Linked DNA regions of Homo sapiens: regions 1, 2, 3, 4, 5 and 7 are each linked to region 6. The links are contacts of gene promoters, found by promoter capture Hi-C in blood cells and fetal thymus (Javierre and others, 2016). All regions are on one chromosome and are shown on one strand. The core of a region is centred on a gene start or on the middle of the fragment in contact, and the rest is flanking DNA. Distances in the headings are between cores, read along the strand shown.

What was found. Contacts are between HindIII fragments. The CHiCAGO score rates a contact against its expected background, and 5 or more counts as called.
Region 1: a contact is called between a fragment that was not itself captured here and the fragment with the promoter of MASP1 in region 6, in 1 of 17 cell types (endothelial precursors). The highest score is 5.3, in endothelial precursors.
Region 2: the fragment with the promoter of RTP2 here is called in contact with the fragment with the promoter of MASP1 in region 6 in 15 of 17 cell types (M1 macrophages, naive B cells, M2 macrophages and 12 more); the score reaches 12.5 in M1 macrophages.
Region 3: a fragment that was not itself captured here is called in contact with the fragment with the promoter of MASP1 in region 6 in 1 of 17 cell types (activated CD4 T cells); the score reaches 5.0 in activated CD4 T cells.
Region 4: a contact is called between a fragment that was not itself captured here and the fragment with the promoter of MASP1 in region 6, in 4 of 17 cell types (M2 macrophages, activated CD4 T cells, naive B cells and 1 more). The highest score is 7.1, in M2 macrophages.
Region 5: a fragment that was not itself captured here is called in contact with the fragment with the promoter of MASP1 in region 6 in 4 of 17 cell types (M0 macrophages, total B cells, naive B cells and 1 more); the score reaches 6.9 in M0 macrophages.
Region 7: a contact is called between a fragment that was not itself captured here and the fragment with the promoter of MASP1 in region 6, in 7 of 17 cell types (M1 macrophages, activated CD4 T cells, total B cells and 4 more). The highest score is 6.5, in M1 macrophages.

The regions. Positions count from the first base shown.
Region 1 is chr3:187,631,952-187,634,651 of GRCh38, forward strand. No RefSeq gene overlaps it. Among named protein-coding and RNA genes, the nearest start is that of SST, 37 kb to the right of the region's middle. The HindIII fragment of the contact is 573 bases long and covers 1,087-1,659 here.
Region 2 is chr3:187,701,227-187,703,926 of GRCh38, forward strand. It overlaps RTP2 (receptor transporter protein 2), which reads right to left and starts at 1,331. Exons shown (of 2, transcript NM_001004312.2): 1 at 739-1,331. The coding sequence starts at 902. It overlaps LOC100131635 (hCG1645011-like), which reads left to right and starts at 1,140. Exons shown (of 3, transcript NR_034062.1): 1 at 1,140-1,313. The HindIII fragment of the contact is 5,389 bases long and covers 1-2,700 here.
Region 3 is chr3:187,591,067-187,593,766 of GRCh38, forward strand. No RefSeq gene overlaps it. Among named protein-coding and RNA genes, the nearest start is that of SST, 78 kb to the right of the region's middle. The HindIII fragment of the contact is 718 bases long and covers 1,026-1,743 here.
Region 4 is chr3:187,651,338-187,654,093 of GRCh38, forward strand. No RefSeq gene overlaps it. Among named protein-coding and RNA genes, the nearest start is that of SST, 18 kb to the right of the region's middle. The HindIII fragment of the contact is 4,522 bases long and covers 1-2,756 here.
Region 5 is chr3:187,718,044-187,720,743 of GRCh38, forward strand. The region is part of intron 2 of LOC100131635 (hCG1645011-like); the gene reads left to right. Among named protein-coding and RNA genes, the nearest start is that of RTP2, 17 kb to the left of the region's middle. The HindIII fragment of the contact is 2,223 bases long and covers 283-2,505 here.
Region 6 is chr3:187,290,372-187,293,126 of GRCh38, forward strand. It overlaps MASP1 (MBL associated serine protease 1), which reads right to left and starts at 1,366. Exons shown (of 11, transcript NM_139125.4): 1 at 1,257-1,366. The coding sequence starts at 1,261. It overlaps LOC101929130 (a long non-coding RNA gene), which reads left to right and starts at 901. Exons shown (of 2, transcript NR_135551.1): 1 at 901-1,165. The HindIII fragment of the contact is 4,632 bases long and covers 1-2,755 here.
Region 7 is chr3:187,611,588-187,614,332 of GRCh38, forward strand. No RefSeq gene overlaps it. Among named protein-coding and RNA genes, the nearest start is that of SST, 57 kb to the right of the region's middle. The HindIII fragment of the contact is 287 bases long and covers 1,175-1,461 here.

The DNA.
Region 1 (2,700 bases), core at 123-2,622, 340 kb after region 6:
CAAACCTGCCTCCTATTTTAGTTCCAAGATAAGATAGTTACAAAGATTGCTTTAAAAGCTACATATCTCCCTCACAATTTGCCAACAGGCGATTTCTTGTGGGCCTCAAGACCTTCACCTTAAACCAATTCTGTTGAATTTCACCTTGGCTATGTAAATTGATAGCTTATCTTCACAGATGGAGTACAAAGGACACACAGAATCAAGGTCATTCCTCTGCTCACCTGAGACAAATGCATATCCAATTGCTTCTTCTGCCCTACTGCTTATGTAAAAATGCAGATTCACTGAGTCAGACTAAGGCATAAGTTCCTCTACCCCCACTCACATGTGAGTTGTGTCTTCAATGAAAGGCTGTAAAAGACCCAAAAGAATGCAACTTTTTGTCTCTTATCTACCTACTAGAAGCCCCCACTTCAAGTTGTCTTGACTTTCTGGGCCAAACCAATGTATGTCTTACACGTATTGACTGATGCCTCATGTCTCCTAAACTGTATAAAACCAAGCTGTGACCAAACCACCTTGGACACAGGTCATCAGGACCTCCTGAGGCAGTGTCAAGGGCATGTCCTTAACCTTAGCAAAACAACTTTCTAAGTTAATTGAGACCGGCCTCGGATATTTTTGGGTTCATAATATCAGGGAGGTTATGTAACTTGTTCAAGATCACATAGCTAGCAAGTGGGAGACCAGGGCATCAGAGCCAGAATGCCTGTAATCACGAAGTAACCAAATGAAGGAAGATTACTCATGCTCCTGTATTTCTGAACCATCGACCTGAGGGGCAGCACCATGATGAAAATCACAGTCATGGCACTTTTTGTGAGCAACAATTAAAAGCCCTGTGCCCATTCATTCCCTTTCTTTCAAAGGAAAATGGTTGGAATGGGAACAAAGAAAGTAGGTTCTTAAAGTATATTTTATGCTTATATATTTGTAAGTTGTTTTGTTTGTTTATTCAGAAAGGCTTTGAATTGGAGCCAGAAGAGTCCCTCTTTGAATCACAGTTTCCTGATTAGTAAAATAGACTTTTGCCTGTTCTATTTATTTCAGAATGCCTTTGCATGGATTCCCCACTCAGGTACAAGCTTCACAGAAGTGGAGATTTTACCCAACCTATTCATCACTGTTTCTTCATATTCCAACACAGTGCCAGACACATAATAGGCCTTGATAAACACTCATTGGCTGAATGAATAAAAAATGAGACACTAAGGGAATACAGTGTTTCTTTCTCAAAGGGTGGTTCAAGGACCACTCGCTCCAGGGTTATCTGGAGAGTTTGTTTAAAGTACAGATTCCTGGGCTAAAAGGGACTTCTTCACTTATTAATGTTTGAGAACTACTGATATAAATGTTATGTGAGTGTCTGCAAACTGTTCAATTTCACAATTTAATGAAATTAACTTCAAGTGAAGCTGTAATTATCATCTGATTCTGATAAAGAATGGAGAGGGAATCCTACTGTTTCTCTCCACTTTTCCTTTATTTACTTCCTCATTCTTTTATACTTTCCTTCCCTATATTAGTCCATTCTCACATTGCTATAAAGAAATATCTGAGACTAGATAATTTATAAAGAAAGAAGTTTCATTACTTAAGAGTTCCAAAGGCTGTACAGGATGCGAATTAGCTTCTGTTTCTGGGGAGGCCTGAGGAAGCTTCCAATCATGGCAGAAGGCAAAGGGGGAGCCAACACTTCACATGGCCAGAGCAGGAGAAAGACAGAGAGAGGGTAGAGGCGCCACACACTTTTAGACAATCAGATCTCATGAAAACTCTATCATGAGAACAGCACCAAAGGGGGAAATTCACCCCCATGATCCAGTCACCTCCCACCAGACCCCACCTTCAGCATTGGGGGTTACAATTCGACATGAGATTTGGGTGGGAACACTGATCCAGACCATATTATTCTGCCCTTGGCCCCTCCTGAATCTCATGTCCTTCTCACATTTCAAAATATAATTATGCCTTCCCAACAGTCCCCAAAACCTTAATTCATTCCAGCATTAACTCAAAAGTCCAAAATCCAAAGTCTCATCTAAGGCAAGGCAAGTCCCTTCTGCCTATGAGCCCATAAAACAAGTTAGTTAATCACAAAATAAAAAGGGGATACAGGTATTGGGTAAATACTGCCATTCCAAAAGGGAGAAATTAGTCAAAAGAAAGGGGTTACAGGCCCCACACAAGTCCAAAACTCAGCAGAGAAGTTATTAAATCTTAAAGCTCCAAAGTAATCTCCTTTGACTCCATATCCCACATCTGGGGCACACTGATGCAAGGGATGGGCTCCCAAGGCCTTGGGCAGCTCCACCCGTGCAGCTTTTCAGGGTTCAGTACCTGCAGCTGCTCTCAAATAACAGGTTATTTGAAATAACCAAAGTGCAAGCAATAGTATTTGAGATCACTGAAGTCGCCATTTTAATTGGGGAATTGAGTGCCTGTGACTTTTCCAGGTACAGGATGCAAGCTACTGGTAGATCTCTCATTCCAGGGTCTACAGGATGGTGATCCCCTTCTCACCGCTCCACTAGGCAGTGCACCAGTGGGGACTCTGTGTGGGGGCTTCAACCTCACATTTCCCCTCTGCACTACCCTGGTAGAGGTCCTCCATAAAGGCTCCACCGCTGCAGCAGGCCTCCTCTTGGACATCCAGGCTATTCCGTATTCTCTGAAATCTAGGTAGAGGCTCCCAAG
Region 2 (2,700 bases), core at 81-2,580, 410 kb after region 6:
TTTAGACGGCCTCGTCCCCTTGGCCTCAAGGACTCTTTGCCCTGTGGTAGATGTGCAGCTCCTATAAAGAGTGGGACCCTGGGCTCTAAGTTCCTAAAGAAAGTTTTGCTCAAAGCTAAATCTTTTTATCACAGGTGCATAGATAATAGAGCTAGAGTGGATTGGATCTATTATCTAAGACCAACCCCCTCATTTTGTAAATATAAAAACTGAGAGCCAGAAAGGGAAACAGACTTGCCAAGTTTACAAGGCTACTTAGCTATATAGAGCCAGTTCGTAGCACACAGCAGGTGGTCAATAAATGTTTATGTATTCAGATCAAATTGGATTAATTCACTAAACATATCTAGGAACAGAGCATAGCTGTACCCCCTGCATTCCCCCAACTCCTAGATTAAAACTTTCCCCAATGGACCTCATGGCCTCCTTCCTTCAGTTCCAACTCACTCTAAATGTCAGAGATTGCAGGGACATAGATGATATTACAGCTCTTCATTTAATGTGGACAACTAAGACCCAAAGATGGAACATAACTTTCTCAGGGTCACCCAGGGAGTTAGTGGTATTGCTAGGATTAAAAGCAAGAACTCTCTGACCCAGCCGGCTGTCTTTGTCTTTTTCCCCATCTGAGCTGACACCAGAATAAGCCCGCGACTGGGCTCTGTCTCTCCTTGGAAAGTACCCCACAGCTGTGACCCAGGGGCTGTCTGCAAGGTCCCTCCCCACTGAACCTCTCACCTGCCTGAGGCGTGCTGCTCCAGGTACTGCTTCCAGCCAGGGGCCAGCTCACTGGGCTTGAGGTTGGGGTCTATGATGAGCTCCCAGCTGTCCGCTGGCTTTGCCACCTCCATCTTCTCATAGAAGACTTTCTTCCACTCACAAGTGGTCAAGCTGGTACACATGGTCCTGCTGGCAGAGGTGGCAGTTCGAGCTCAGCCCTGGTGAGAACACAGAAAGAGCACGGATAGGTACGGGACAATTCAGTGTCTACGGTCAGAATCCTCATCGGCAGGACTGGGAGTAAACAGGACCCAGCTCCCTCCTCTGTTACCCTGGAACCTGTTACCATGGTAGCCAGGCAGGGCACCAAGAGTGAGGGCTGGGGAGAAGGGAAGCCCCAAGGGGGAGTTTCAGGGCCCTGAGTTAGGCTTCAGAGGCAGCGCTGGGTAGGCCTGAGAGGAGCAAGCACAGTGGGAGGCCCAACCTCAGACCACACTCATCTGGATTTCCAGAGGTCTCCAGGAGGCAAGGACTATTTGGTGGCCCTGCTTCACCCAACTGCTCTTCTAGCATTCTCCACATCATGTGCTATGGTAAGTACGACACCCTAGGAAGTCAAGGAGAAATGAGGGACAGGGAAAGGCAGAGCCTGCTGCTTCCACACCCCCTGATATGCTGTGACCATCACTTACCATGTGCCTAGCACAAACCGCTTGACCTGTGTGCTGGCCAAAGCAGATCAGATCAGGAAACTGAAGTTTATGCAACCCCTAAGTGGCTCATCCAAGATTCAGATCTAGGCCTTCTGAAACCGAGCTCATTTGTTTATTTATTTTAGTACTATTGTGCTCCTAACAGGGAATTGAGTGAGAAGTAACATCTCTTTGCCCAGGGCAATCTTAGACCAGTTGGTGAGCTAGAATGTAATTTCATATGCCATGCAAAGCACAGTAATAACATTTCAGATTCATAGCGTCATAGAACTGTTAGAGCCCATATTCAGTTCCTGGTCCCAAGCCAGGCTAAGGTGGCTGCTGGGGTAATGAGTTTGTTCTGTGCTGCAGGCTCCTGCTGCCTCCATTACTGCTGAGCTGGAGCAAGAGAGCATCCGTAGCTCTGTGATGCCCAATTCAAATTCTTTAGAAACCAGAGGGGAATCTGACTTCAAATTTGGTAATCCAAGTGAAGACACGGTTACCTGAAGGGAGGCTGCCTTGAGCATGGAAAAGACCAGGCATATGGCTGCTTACCCTAGCTTTGGTCCAACTTCCAACTGTAATCATCTTACGATTCTTTAACCCGGAAGTCTGGATCCCTAGACACGCAGAGTTCCAACAGTAAAGAGCTTCAAGAAGTGAAACAGGTTGCTAAGAACCGGAAGCTCTTGGTGTTGAGTTGCCAAGTGGTTTTCAGGAAGTGTGAAGTCAGGGACAATGTCACTGGATTCTCTCTTGAAATGAAAAGTGTTACTCTAGCGGCTTTGTGCTAAAGACCTCAGAAAGGACACAATTGTCTTTGAACCATTGACTGACAGCTCTAGAAGAGCTCTTTTATTTTTAAAAATCTGGTTTATTTCTTGAACTCTTCATTTCTTAACCAAAATTTATTGACATTGAATTAAAACAACTGAGGCCTGGAAATGGAAAATTACTGGCCCAGGCTCTCAGGACTGGGTAGCTCAAACCTCACTGGGGATTCCCTTAGAAGCCAGTTACCAGACCAGGTGAGACAGAGGGATCCATGAATGGCCAGGAACTGAACGAAGCTGAGATGAGCTTATGGCCTGGCCTAGACCCTCGTGCCAGGAAAGAACCTCTGAGAAATAGTATACCCTTGTTCCCAGAACAAATGGCAATAAAGGAAAAACAGAAAGAGGATGAGAATTGTCAGGGTTTACCTGTATTTTCTTTTTTCCTCAAATAATGCAATCCCCTTAGGCCTAGTATCAGGTTTAATTTAGCATAGCAGCTTCTAAGCAGA
Region 3 (2,700 bases), core at 135-2,634, 300 kb after region 6:
GGGACATGCCGACTCTCTATCTTTTCTGTGGAGTTCTCAGGCATCTGGTTAGCTTTTGTTTGGCACTTTATATAAAATCTACAAGTCTTTTTAAATGAATTCCTTTGGTTTCCCCATAGAAAAACACATTCTGCCCTGTGGCCAGAGCTCCAGCTACCAAGGCCCAGGGGGAGGGGCAGGGGGCGGGTGGGATGCGGTTAGAAAGTGAAATGAGACTTCCTTGGTTCAGTATGCAAATCTTTCCCTTCCCCTTCCCCGTGTTTTAGGCCATATATTAGACATCAGCCTTGCACTATGTGTGGTGCCCCAACTCAGGAATGAAATGATTCTGTTTTCCAAGAGAGCAAGCCTCAGGTCTCCAGTGTTGTGAGGCACGGCTAACTCCCTAGTAGTCTGTAGTAAGAAAGGGAACCGGAGTGCTCACGATTCTTTTTCAGGCTTCCAGCTAATCTCCCTGCTTTTGCTCCCAGCACCCTCTCCCTGCTCTTTCTGCCACAGCTGAGATTCGTAAGGGTTCTGTGGGTCACATCAGCTCACTTCTCATAGCACCCCACTTTTGGGGTCCTTGTGTTGGCATGGTCTTTACCCCACTTTCAGACTTTTCAAAATATGTTGGCATCTCTTGCTGTGGATGCCTCTCCTGTGCTCCTTTGTCCTTGGGACAAGGGCATGTCTGTAATCAATTCAAAATTGTTTTTAATAGAGATAGGATCTCACTATGTTGCCAGGCTGGTCTTGAACTATTGGGCTCACGTGATCCTCCTGCCTTGGCCTTCCAAAGTGCTAGGAGGAAATATTTTTCAATATTTTCCAGTATTTTTAAGGGAAATCCAGACTAGTTTTAAGGCAACATTTAAAACTCTCATGCTTTCCAGGGCCCTGCTTTGAAAACTTTTGAAGATATCCAGATTCCTTAGTTGAGGCTATTTCCACAGTGCTCCTGAGTCTCTGTGGAATCAAATGACTCAAGCAGCTTCAAGAATCCCTTGTATAACATGACCTTTAGAAAAGTAGAGAAAATGAAAAGCTTCTCTTGGAATGCAAATCATCAATTGTTTGAAAAATCCAAAGTTTGCAACATCATCTCAGGGTGGCTGCAAACATCAAACTGATAAAAGAGCCTCTAGAGCTCCTTTTCTGACATAGGGAATTCTGTGTTTGTTTTTCTTATTGTCTTGAGGAGTTGCAGGAGAGCTTTTCTGTTTTCTCTTTTCTCTTTTAGTATTTTAAAATTGAATCAGACTTGAAGTGACTCCTCCTTGAGCATGTGCTAAAGCAGCTGTGATGACCGGAAGTCATGGCCAGAAAATCTTCCACAGGAAACAACACACTCACACACACACCTTTAATTATTCAAACTCCCAAAGGTTCTGAAGTTAAACAAGTTCTTCCTCGGGAGAGCAGACTTGACCCTCTTTTCCCTACTCTCTTCCCCAACCTCAACTCCTGCACAAGAACTTCAAGGACGCAGCCATAAATTAGGTTGACATCTAGAAGCCCCCTCCATCTAAAACTGATGGAGAACCACAAAAACTGGGAAGGTTTCCTCCTCTGGGGCTGTGAATTTCTGCTTCTCTCATTAATAAGATAATTTTACTTCCTTGGGCAAAATGGAGCATAGCTGTCTCTTATTCATGACAGAGAAATCATAATATTATTTTAGTTTATCTTCAGCACCCCTCCAATTCTCATTGAGTTATTCTGGGCGCAAACCAGGTTATTTTTGGCATTTCCAATGTACTAAGCTTCATGAAGAAAAGAGGCAGAAAAGCAGAGTATTTAGGATCCCGGTATTAAACACACTTGGATTGAAATCCTGGCTCCCTCACTACATGCCTATGATGTTTAGTAATATCTGAATATTATTGGTTACTTAATTTATAATATTCATAATTATCTATGAAATACATAATAATATAAACTTTCAATAGGACAGTGAGAAGGATTAAATTTAATAAAGCATATGAGGAGCTAAACTTCTGTGGCATATAGTAAATGCTCAATCAATTTAGGTTGTCATGATTGTAATCAGGAAGATAAAATAACGTGTGTGTGTGTGTTTAGTTATGCTAGATAGGTGATTTTTGAGCTGCAGAGATTTTGAACTCTTAAACGAAGGAATACCATCATTCTCTGTGCTGGACAGACTTTCTGATGGCTCCAGCTTAATTTCCATCATAATGTTGTAAGACTTTCTCCTTAGTTTAGCTAAAAATTGGGTCCTTGCCACATGACCATGAAATATTAGGCTCGCAGACTCTTTGAAGGGTGAGAAAAATGGAATTTATTGGGCGAAAAGGAAAAAAACTCAGCAACACGAGATAGGTTCCTGTAAACATGCTCTCACATCAGATTGAATCCCAGCTTCCACCCAGGAAGAGGAGGGGCCAGGCTCCTGCCTACTGCAACCGGCATGAGCTTCCCGAGGCTCCACCCAAATGCACAGTCCTCCCAGTGTGCAGGCAGGTCAGAGGTTCTCCAGGGATCCCTTTACACTTGGCTGTCTCAATAACTCAACCACAACTCCTCTGCCAAGGACAGTTCACACTGCCTCTCAGAACTGAGCTCATGTAATGGCAGCTCATGTCATCTTCAGAGAGCTCAGCTGTTAGAAAATCATTCTGATTGTCAGCTAAAATGTTGTTCTCTATAATTTTCATCTGTTGGTTATGCAGCCTCTTGAAGGTGCATGATGCGAGT
Region 4 (2,756 bases), core at 161-2,660, 360 kb after region 6:
AACTCTGTCATTTTAAGTCTCCAAGTTTCAGTTTACTGTCCATGAAACAGATATAACAGTGCAAAGTGCTGATAAACGACTTCCCAGTCTTTTGAAATTCTCCATTTTTGGCTTCCAGGATACCCTTCTTTTCTGGTTTACTCAGCTCTGTGGTTATTCTTTTTGGTCTCCTTTGTGAGACGGTTTTCTTCCTTTTACCTCTTACTGTGGACTCATTTCAGGACTCTCTCCTTTTTCTGCTTCTCTTCTGACTTTACATGCTTTTTCTGGACAATATCACCCCTGGGCTTACACTGCCAAGCATCAGCTGATGATTCCCAGATCTCATCTGTAGCCCCCAACCTCACTCCTGAGGGAATATCCATCTTCTCACTCACCAGTTCCTCTTGGGTGGTCCCCAGCACTTTAACTCCCCATGCCCACTGCAGACCCACTATGCTCCCCCTAAACCTTGTCCTCTTCTGGTCCTTGCCTTGGGGATGGCACCACCTTCTGCTCTGCTGCTTATATCAGAAAAGTGACAATCATGTTATTTCTCTCCTCAATCCTCAGACACATTGAATAGTTCATAATATTCTGTTATTTATTTCTCCTAAATTTCTTCCTATTTTATCTCATTTTATCCATTCTCATTATCTAGTTAAGGCTCTAGCCTCTTACATGGACTACTTCAGCAACCTCTAACCTGTCTTCTCTTCTTTCAGGTTGTCCTTTTCCAGTTCATTTCCACACCACTATTATACTTAACCACCCAAATCACAATTCTGATTGTTTTATGCCCAGACTTTTTAAAGTCCCTGATTATCTTAAAAAAAAAAAAATTGAGAATCTTGCACAATGTGCTCTATGCCAGTCCTGCAATCTCATCTGTCTCTATTGACATACCTGCCCCCACCCCCCGCCCTCAACTCCACTGCACTTTAGCACTACAAAAATTCCCAATTCTTATTTGAGGTCTCCCAACAGCTTGCAGTCAATTAGCAGACATCTTTTAGAGTGTCTCTGCAGCCTTCAAGGCCCCATCTTTAAAGTTTTCATCCATAGCAGAGAGCCTGGGAAACTATGTTTGTACCCTACGATCTTCCCACTCTGATCATTATGGTACGACTGGAACAGATTCTCGAGCCAGGTTGGGCCAGGTAGTTATTCTCTATCAAGAATTTGGAATTTAGACTCAGAGCTATAAATTAGATATCTATGGTTCATTGGATTCCTTTTCAGTTCTTGGTTCAACCCCCTCATTTGGCTTGGCAGCTCTGGGCCCTCAGGATCTGTGGGATGTCATGATTTTCTATCCAGCATTCCCTTTTTGTTTAAATAAGTATGAAATGAGTCTCTTTACCTGCCACCAAATGATTCTAAGCCACTCATCAACACATCTCATACTTAGTCGTTTTCCCTCTCATTTTCCTCTGACTGAATCATCCTGCAACTATTTTCATCTTATAAATTTCCATGTATCCTCAGGAACCAGTGCAAGCATTGCCTCCTCTGCAAAGCTCTCCAATACTCCCTCTCCCACGGACAGTTTCATTTACTCCGCCTTATGAGCTGCCACTATACTTGCTATCACACTTAGTCGGAACTTTGTTTTATAGGACAGTTTTTTCCTGTAAGAACATGAGCTCCTTGAGAGAGGCCATAGGCATATTTGTATCATCAATGCTAGGAGAGATCCTCACACATAGCAAATACTTAGGACATTTATCTTGAGAACTTGAGTGAGTGAATTGATACTTGTGAAAAATATATAAAACAAACATTATCTAAGCGTCTTGTATAAAATAAAGGTCTTACACATCCAATAGATCATCCCCACGGTTCTAAAATTCTGATTAATGCTTTTTCCTGAATTTTAAACTTATCATAGGTATGACCAAGTGAGTAGCTTTCTGTAAAAATTAAGACAAACACAAGGATACTGACACAGCTCTCATTTAGGGAAATAAAGGGCTCCATGCTAATGGATCAGGCTCCAGTTGGCTCTTTTATTTGAAGCCACTTTTAGGTTGAGTTGTTGAGAAATATCTTGACAGCCTACTTCAACGTTGTGTTTTTCTTCTAGTGTTACAGAGTATAACAATAATGTCCTTTCCTTGACCTCTGCTAATGCTTTTTAGTCTCTCAAAGAAATTGGAAAATGCTCACAAGCAGTCTCAAAAGAGAACTCATACATCCTCCACTTGTTCCAGGGAAAGACTTGTTTCCCTGCATCAACCACCCCCAAAACGGATAAACAAACAGCTGCCTAAATTGTCCTTCAAGGTCCAACAGAGAATCTAGATGACAGTGACACACCTTGGAACTGACTCTCGTCATTCTGGAAACACAGCCTGTGTTTTCCTACCTGTTTTGCTACCTGTTTGACTTGGAAAAATGTTCACATGGCTCTGCCCTCTTCCCTCTATCGAAAGCCCAGTTCCTCTGATTTCCCTGAATGGGAATAAGTCTTTTCTTTTGGCTGTGTCCCCATAGCAATTGTTTTGCACTTCACATGTAGGACTTCCTACACTCAGCCATGAACACATCAGTCTCCACTCCAGATGGGACTTGTCAAGGTCAAGGGCTATGTCTCTGAATATCCACAGCACCAAGTCAGTGCATTGGCACTCAATATTCCTTGTAATTAAATTAAATATATACAAAGAAGATTTTGTTTACTAATCCTTGAGGACCATGGGACGCTGCATTTAGAACTAAACCTAGCTAGCATTAGGAACCCACTTACCCAAATTTACTAACAGAAATTGACAACA
Region 5 (2,700 bases), core at 144-2,643, 430 kb after region 6:
GAAGCGTGGCTATCTGTGAAGCGTAAGGGTCCTTCTAATGGCAGACTCCCCAGAAGCATGGCTATCTGTGAAGCGTAAGGGTCCTTCTAATGGCAGACTCCCCAGAAGCATGGCTATCTGTGTGTAAATTATGCTCCTTTGGTTCCAGGAAATAGACTCATACAGGCCAGTCCAAGTAACGGCAGTGGTGTAGAAATGAAGGCAGTGACCCCATTATACAGTGGTTATAAGAGGGATGGATTATCCTAGAAATCTAAGACTAGAAACCCCCACACAATTATAAGCTTCATAGAACTAGATCCTGAAAGGTCACCCTAGTTCTGCAGACCTCATTCTGGAGCTTTGCCGTTAATGTGGCCCAGCTACTCTTCAGGGGTCAGCTTTTCTCTGCTCCTATTCCTCATTCTAATTCTCTTAGTGCTTACCAATGCATGTCTCTGATAGAACACAGGACAACTTATTATTATTATTAATTTTTTTTTTGAAACAGAGTCTCACTCTGTTGCCCAGGCTAGAGTGCAGTGGCACGATCTTGGCTCATTGTAACCTCCACCCCCTGGGTTCAAGCAATTCTCCTGCCTCAGCCTCCCTAGTAGCTGGGATTACAGGCATGCGCTACCACGCCTGACTAATTTTTGTATTTTTAGTAGAGACGGGGTTTCGCCATGTTGGCCAGGCTGGTCTCGAACTCCTGACCTCAAGTCATCCATCTGCCTCGGCCTCCCAAAGTGCTGGGATTACAGGGGTGAGCCACCGTGACCAGCCTTATTATTAATTATTACTATGAGTGAGACAGAGAGAGAAAATGGAAACCCAGATTTCAAAGGGAATAGCTCATTTCTCCAAGAAGCCTGAGGCCTAACAATTGAATTGAACTGATTAAAGTTCTAATGACAACCACTGTGCGAACTCAGCCTACCCGGACACCTTTAGCTGCGGGACCTTGGACTAGTTCCTCCTTCCATTTCCCCATGTCTAAAACGGAACATTTGTAACCAGGCATGGTGGTGGCCCCTGTAGTCCCAGCTACTCTGGAGGCTGAGGCAAGAGGATTGCTTGAGCTCAGGAGTTCAAGTGAGCTATGATGGTGCCATTGCCGCACCCCAGCCTGAGTGACAGAGCAAGACTCCATCTCTAAGAAAAATAAAATAATAAATAAATAAATAAATAAATATTAAAAATTAAAATGGAACATTTGCCTCTGGTTTTCCTTCCCTTAGGGTTGTGTAAAGAGCAGGAGCCTGTTCTCCACTCTCCACCCCAGGCTCTGGGCGGCAGTAGGAAAGTGCCTTCAGCCCTCCTGCCTCAATCCTTTCATGGGTCAGGTGCAAGATTTGAGCTAGGTGATCTTACCACCCCATCCCTTCCAACTACTAAATAGCTCTGCATAATTCTAACCACCCCTTCCCTTCCAACTACTAAATAGCTCTGCATAATTCTAACCACCCCGCTTCTCTGGGATTACCCCTTACACATCCTCATCACACTGATCCTCAGAAACCTATCCTCTAAAAATCCCACAATGTAGAACACCACGCATGTTCCATGTATGGGTGAAAAGCTGCATTTACATCTTGCTTTTTAGTAAACATTTTATATTCCCTTTGCCCTGGCTTATCTGCTTAGAGACTTTTCTTTTTAGTTATTATTGATTGTCAATTGGCTGCAGTTACTCACTCTTTGATCTTCCCTTTTGTTTAAATGGCCACCCACACTATCTGCCCTCGCCCCTCCATCTCTCTATTAAACAGTAATGAAATGCAAACAAACTTGGAGGTACTCTGGGAGCAAAGGGACCCTGGGGCCAGCTTCCCTTAGGCCTGTGAATTGTCATTCCTGAAGCTGTCTGTTTTGTAAGTTCTCCTGCCAAGTTTCTATGGGAGCAGAGGGATCATTTTCTCCCTTTTCAAAGAGCAGGGTGAGTTGAGGCCTCGAGCTGGCAAGTCCTTTAAAGTCATTTTCAAAGGAAACCTGAGCTGAAAGGCCATGCAGCTGGCAGAGGGTGCTGTGCCTTTCTGAGGCTCTCTGTGGGGTGCTGGGTGGTCAGCTCCCATGGCTTCCCAGCACGTGCTCGGAGCCTGCTGCAAAGGCACTGCCAAGGGACACGGCTGCCCAACAAGTGGGCCCATGGCCCTGGGGACAGGCTCAACTCCACATGCTCTCCCCACTGCCACCCAGGAACAGGAAGGGGGGTGTGCAGGCTTCTCCTCTGGGCCAGTGACCAGAACCACACTTGTCCTCACTGTTCTCAGGTCAAACTTGATCCTTGGCGTTTTTTGAGGTAAAATAAAACTAGGTGCAAAGCAAGCTAGGGTGAACTTACATCTGAATCAGGGAATCATAAATGGTGTAGTTCACTCTCATGGACAGGTTGGAAAGGGGACCCAGAGGGAAAGTGCTTGTCCCAAGTCACACTGGAGGAGGTGGCTGAGTTCTGCCGCAGGGCTCTTGGGACAGAGCACCTCTGCAGGGATGGAGGTTTGCTTGGCCACTAACCATTCATAAAGCTTCTGAGTCTGCAGATGTCTGCCAATCACCCAGCAGACACCAAAAAGCCCCAGATGCACTCAGGCTGAGAAATATATGTCTGGGGCCACATGCCTTCATACTGCCCCATGAGCCGAGGAGAGAGAAATTGTTCGTGAAGCCAGAAAGCAAGATGGGCCTTCTCACTTCCAAAACTGGGCAAACTGAGGTTCA
Region 6 (2,755 bases), core at 116-2,615:
CTCAGCCAAGTAGTTTGATATGGGCTGGGGCACTGAATGGTAGGGTGGGATTCAGACCAGATCATTGACAGATAAATGAGATTATCATTCAATGTAGATTGACATAAATCACTTTTTTTTGGAGAAAGAAAAATGATGTTTAATGGCAGGTTTAAAATTACTATGGCTTTAAGAAGAACAGAATTATTGCACTCACTTTTTAAGGACCTGGTTATCTCTCTGAACCACAGGTAATCGGAGTTCAAAGAGTTAACATAGTCTGAAGCCTCTCATTGGTCTCAGGTCCAGAAAAGTTGCTAGGTTACTTTGCAGAAGAGAAACAAATAAAAACACTTTCCCAAGTGAAAAGAAAATTAATAGTAAAAGATGTGTTTAGGGACTTACACATCTGCAGAGCATTGTGTGTGTGTGTGTGTGTGTGTGTGTGTGTAACAGCATTAACACTTAACTAATAAAAATAACTAGGGTGGTTGGGTTTTCAGACTTGCAGGATAGAACTTGTATGAAAGGTCTGGTAAGGAGTGTCAAGTATAATGAGGAATAAGAAAGGTTAAAGAGTTTAAAACCAATTAGAATTTGAAGTTCTTGATTTCAGAACTCTAAAATCCTTTTTTTTTTTTTAAGTATGATATCTCTTTAAGAGCCATTTGGTGTACTTCATAGCCTGATTCATGCCACCAGCTGCCTCTGATTTCAATGAGAAATGCAGAAAATTTATAGGGAACTGTAAAATGGGGACAGATTTTTAGTTTTCTAAATTGAGGTTTAACTGGCAAACTTGTAAAGGTTGAAGAAACCACAGAGCCAAGCTATGGGAAGCTGGTTTCTTTTCTGGTCAGAAGGAATGAACACACAAACACATATCTAACTCACAAAGTGCTGGAAGAGAGAAAGCAATGCTCTTTCCAGAGGAGGAACACGGAAAAATCAGCCTTGTGGGTGAACAGGAGGAGAGTCACATTCGCCAGCAGGCAGCACCCTGTGCAGGCAGTGGGAGAAATCTGAGCTTCAGCAGCGTCCGGAGCAGGATTTGCACGAAGTCTCCCGTTTCAAGTTTTATGTCTCCTGGAGTCCTGGGGAAGGCACCCAGCCCACCCACAGCTCCCTTCTCAGAGCCCTAAGAATTGATGAGAAAGCCCCTCACTACCACATGCAGGACACGCAGGTGAGTCTGTCAGTGACAAGGTCAGACCTTCCCTGCTATTTGACACTGGTCCCCAAAAGGGAACCGTGCCCTCTCCTCCCCTGGCACGTACCTCATTTTCCTGCCTTGGGTGCTCCCGGCTGCCCGGCCTTGGTCCTCCCAGCTTGACTTGCCTGTGAGCTCGTGCCCGGTGTGGTGTCCGTGATGCCTTATCTTTGTTCTGAGGTCCCTGTGTGTCTCTGGAATTGGCTGGCATTCTCCATTCAGGTCACGCCTTCCCCTGCCTGCAACAGATCCCCTCTCCCCCTCTCTCCCTCTGGCTTTTCCTCTCTCCTCTCTCTCTCCTTTGACTTGCTCTTGCACTCCCAGGAACCTGACAACAAAATCTGTCTTCCTACCGAAAAGATCTGCTCCTTCCCTTCCCTCCTTTATCCTGTGTGGCTGACTTCAGCCCTTGAGAGAAAATAACTGAGGGGCTCAAGCAGGTATTTGTATCACTCTGTGTGTGTGTGTGTGTGTGTGTGTGTGTGTGTAGAGAGAGAGAGAGAGAGAGAGTGAAAGGGGACAAAGTCTAATTTCTCTTTAGTCTTTTTTGCCAGATGACTATAATTTTCTGCTTTTCTTCAGGACACCCATGAAAGAAAAGCAATTAAATAGAAACAACCAACTAAGAAGGCAATTCTAGCACCTACACTAGAAGAAAAAAAAAAGGTCTAAATCCCAGAGCGTCTGTCTGCAAATAACTACAGGTTTCCTTGTGAGCAGAGCCCCAAATAACTACAGGTTTTCTCGTGATCAGAGTCACACACAACGACAGGTTTTCCTGTGAACAGAGCCACGGGCCCGGAACTGGGGAAGCACCAAGTCCTGAAGTTGGCTGGTTGTTCCTCCCCATGAGCAATACCTGTGGCACTGTTTACTTGCTCGGAGTGTGTGCGGCTCTACTCCAGCCCAGAAAGGGCCCATCGCAGCAAGAAATCTCACCTCCCCAGGGGTGTAGAAAGACCTGGGCCTGTATATATGTCTATACCCATGGCTTCCGGAGAAATCAACACTAGATCTAAGATGAGCTGAATAATAAGAAAATTACCCCCTCCACAACAACAACAACCAACACTGAATAGGGAGAGGTGTATCTGGGTGTAAAAGTTAAGTTTGACTGTGCACCTTTTCTGTGTTAGACACAGTACTAGTCATTAACATCATCTCAAGTTACTTTTGCAAACTGGTGAAAGTGCTGCTGTTATACTCATTTTACAAGTGAGGACACTAAGGCTCAGAGAGAATATGCCACTTGCCAAGATCATCCAGTTATTTATGACTCCCCACTGCCACTAGCACTAGAAGCTAACAGCTATTGAGTGCTACGTGTCAGGCACTGCTCTAAGCACTTAATATATGAATTCTTTTCAGTCATCTTTATATGTTGTATACATGGCTGGCAATATTCTCATTTTTCAGAGGAAATTGCCCAGAGAGGTTAAGTAACTTTCCCAAGTTCACACAGCTAGAAAGTAATAGAGGCAGAATTTGAAGTGTTAGCCACTGTATTACACTGCTACTCATTAACATTTTATAATGCATATGGAATTTCAAATGCACACACACAGA
Region 7 (2,745 bases), core at 68-2,567, 320 kb after region 6:
GACAGCCTGATGCCACTATTTTCCTTGTGAGATTCCTCTTGATATGAATTCATTCTCAGCGAGCAGCCTCCTGATTAAGGTTTAGCTTCCCAGGGAGGCTTTCTTCTGTGAAGAGACAGCTCTGGCATACTGATGTATGTGGTCTGGGCCTTGTGGCCATGGTCCTTCCTTGAGAAGCTGTAGTTTTGTGCATCAGCATTGTGAGTTTGGCTAGTATGAGTCTGCCCTGGAAGAGCACACACTCCTGGCGGTAATAAAATCAATCCTGAGCCTACATGATTGGGGGTCAGATACCAGGCCATGGTCAATCCTCTGAGGGAAGGAAGGCATCCTTTAGGACCCCTCAAGGTAACCAGCCAGTAGTTCCCCTGTAGGCACCCCCTCGTGCTGTCTTGTGTTAAAACTTCCACAGGGATCAGCATTGAGGGGGCCCTTGGTTTCCTCACTTTGCCTCCTCCCTTTCTTGTTTGGGTGACCCTCATGGACTCCCAGGGGTCTGGCCAGCAGTGATATATATTGCCTCTGGAAACTTGTGCCTGCCTCAGACCCTGCACATTGATGTAAAAAAAAAAAATCATTGCATCTCAAACAACCAAATTGCTAGTACTTTACATTTACTACACACATTACCCATGGGCAAATTTGAAAATTATAGCTCTTCTCGGGTGTTTTATACTAGATTTCAAACAGCCCAGCCCAGCGTGAAACTGCAGGGAACTGAAATGAGTATGGAGGTGGAAAGTGGAGAAGGATCAACTTTATCTCCTGATTAGTCAAGATGAAAAATGATTTGAGAGACATGAGAGGAATGACAATAACATGGTTCATTGGCCTGATTGCCTGTTGTTCATAAACAGATAATGGTGCCCCTGGAAGTTTGTGCAGCTTAAGTCTGCTTGTGATGACCAAATAGGACTGATAGAGTTGTTTTCATTTGGGGCTTCAAACACATTCTTAAAATGCTGTAAAATACCAAAAACACAAAATAAAAAAGAAAGAATTCACAGGATATTCAGTGGTAGGTCATTATTGGGAAGAAGGCAGAACAGCACAGAGTTATTGACCCTTTGAAGTTTAATTTTGAAGCAATCTCCCCTAGAGGCTTTTTCCTGACCTCCACCCTACTCTCAATCAGAAAAGAAGGTTATGGGTTTTTTGCTTTTGTGTTTTTTAAAGCTTCTTTGGGCTGTCCTCCTGGCACTTACTCCATCTTCCTTCCTTTGCAATCACTCACGGGGTGCTGGGTCTCTTCCATTGATTTCTCTTGCAGTATTGGCTTTATGCCATTTACCATTTGCTCACAACAAATGGACAAGGAAAATGCAGGAGAAACCATGATGCAATGGGACTCTCTCATGTATGGACAGCACTTTAAAGTGCTTCACAGATGTGATCCCATCTGAACCCCACAAAAGCCCTGGGAGGTTTACTAGAACTAACACTCTGTGCTTCATATAAAGAAGCTTTTATTCTTCTACAGGCATTATTTTCATAGATCTTCTCTAAAATGGGGATTGCAATTGTTTCTACCTCATAAAGTTGCTACAAAGACTAAACAGAATAAAGAATTTATGTATGTAAAAGCACTCACAACAGGGCCTAGTGCATAAAAAAGGCTCTATATGTTTGCTGTTATTACTTTTTATTATCACTATCTTATTTAATCTGGAATCAGAAGGCTAGGACTGAGGTTTTCTACCTCTAAGCTCAGGGTCCCTGTTAGCACCCTCAGGGCTCTGGCCTGGCATGAACCAGGGTATGTATGGGCCACTTTCTGCTGTGGCCTCCCTTGTCCACTTCTATATCACAGGCAGTTACCATGGACCTTCTCCAAGAGCACTGCCTGCCATGGTCATCTATGGCTGCTTCTATGAAGATACATTTTTCTGCCATTCTGAAAGAGAAAACTTCTCTTTCTCCTCTGGGGTTCGTCTCTTCCCTCCCAGTGGAGAGAGAAGGCCATCTGCTCCTGAGTTCTGCAACCATTTCAAATTTTCTAACAGTGATTTGCTCTTTACCGGAGGCCCAGGCAGGTAATGTCCCATTGGGCAGAAATGCCAGTGCACACTGTCTCCCAGAGAGGTACATTAGGCCAGGCAAGACAGGGGCTGCCTGGCATGCAGCAGCAGGGAGGAGGCTCTGGGCATAATTTCAGTGCTGATTCCAGGTTGGCTGGTCTGGCTCCAAAGGAAGGAGAGCATAGCTGAAGGTGGACCAGTTTCACTTATGCATTCCCAAGCCAACACCAGAGCCGCTGGTGTGCTGGCTGCTGCAAATTCTTCCTCTGGCTACGAAAAGGCAAAAAAAAAAAAAAAAAAAAAAAGAAAGGGAAAACAAGTAAAAAGTTAAACCATTAAACAAAGGCAAACACTGTGTCCTGGGGATCTAAACACAGACACTATTTACTGGATTTATTCTATCATAATGGAACCCTTTTACCATCCTCACATCCAGTCATAAACCTTGTCGAAGTGTAATTGGATATCCCGTGGCATTGGATCCCTCTTGGACACCTCTCGGAAAAACAAACAAACAAACAGACAAAAAACAAAAACCTCCCACTTTCCTCCATCCTCTCTTGAGACATTTAGCTCTTTCTTCCTTGTTAAATGTTGTTAGTCTACATGTCTTGGCTTTCTGACCTCAGATATTACTCCATTATGCAGAATTAACTTAGCTCTCTTGGGAGTCAAGGCAGCCCCTTCCACATGACTCTTCTGTAGCATTTACCTTATTTTCTCTTGG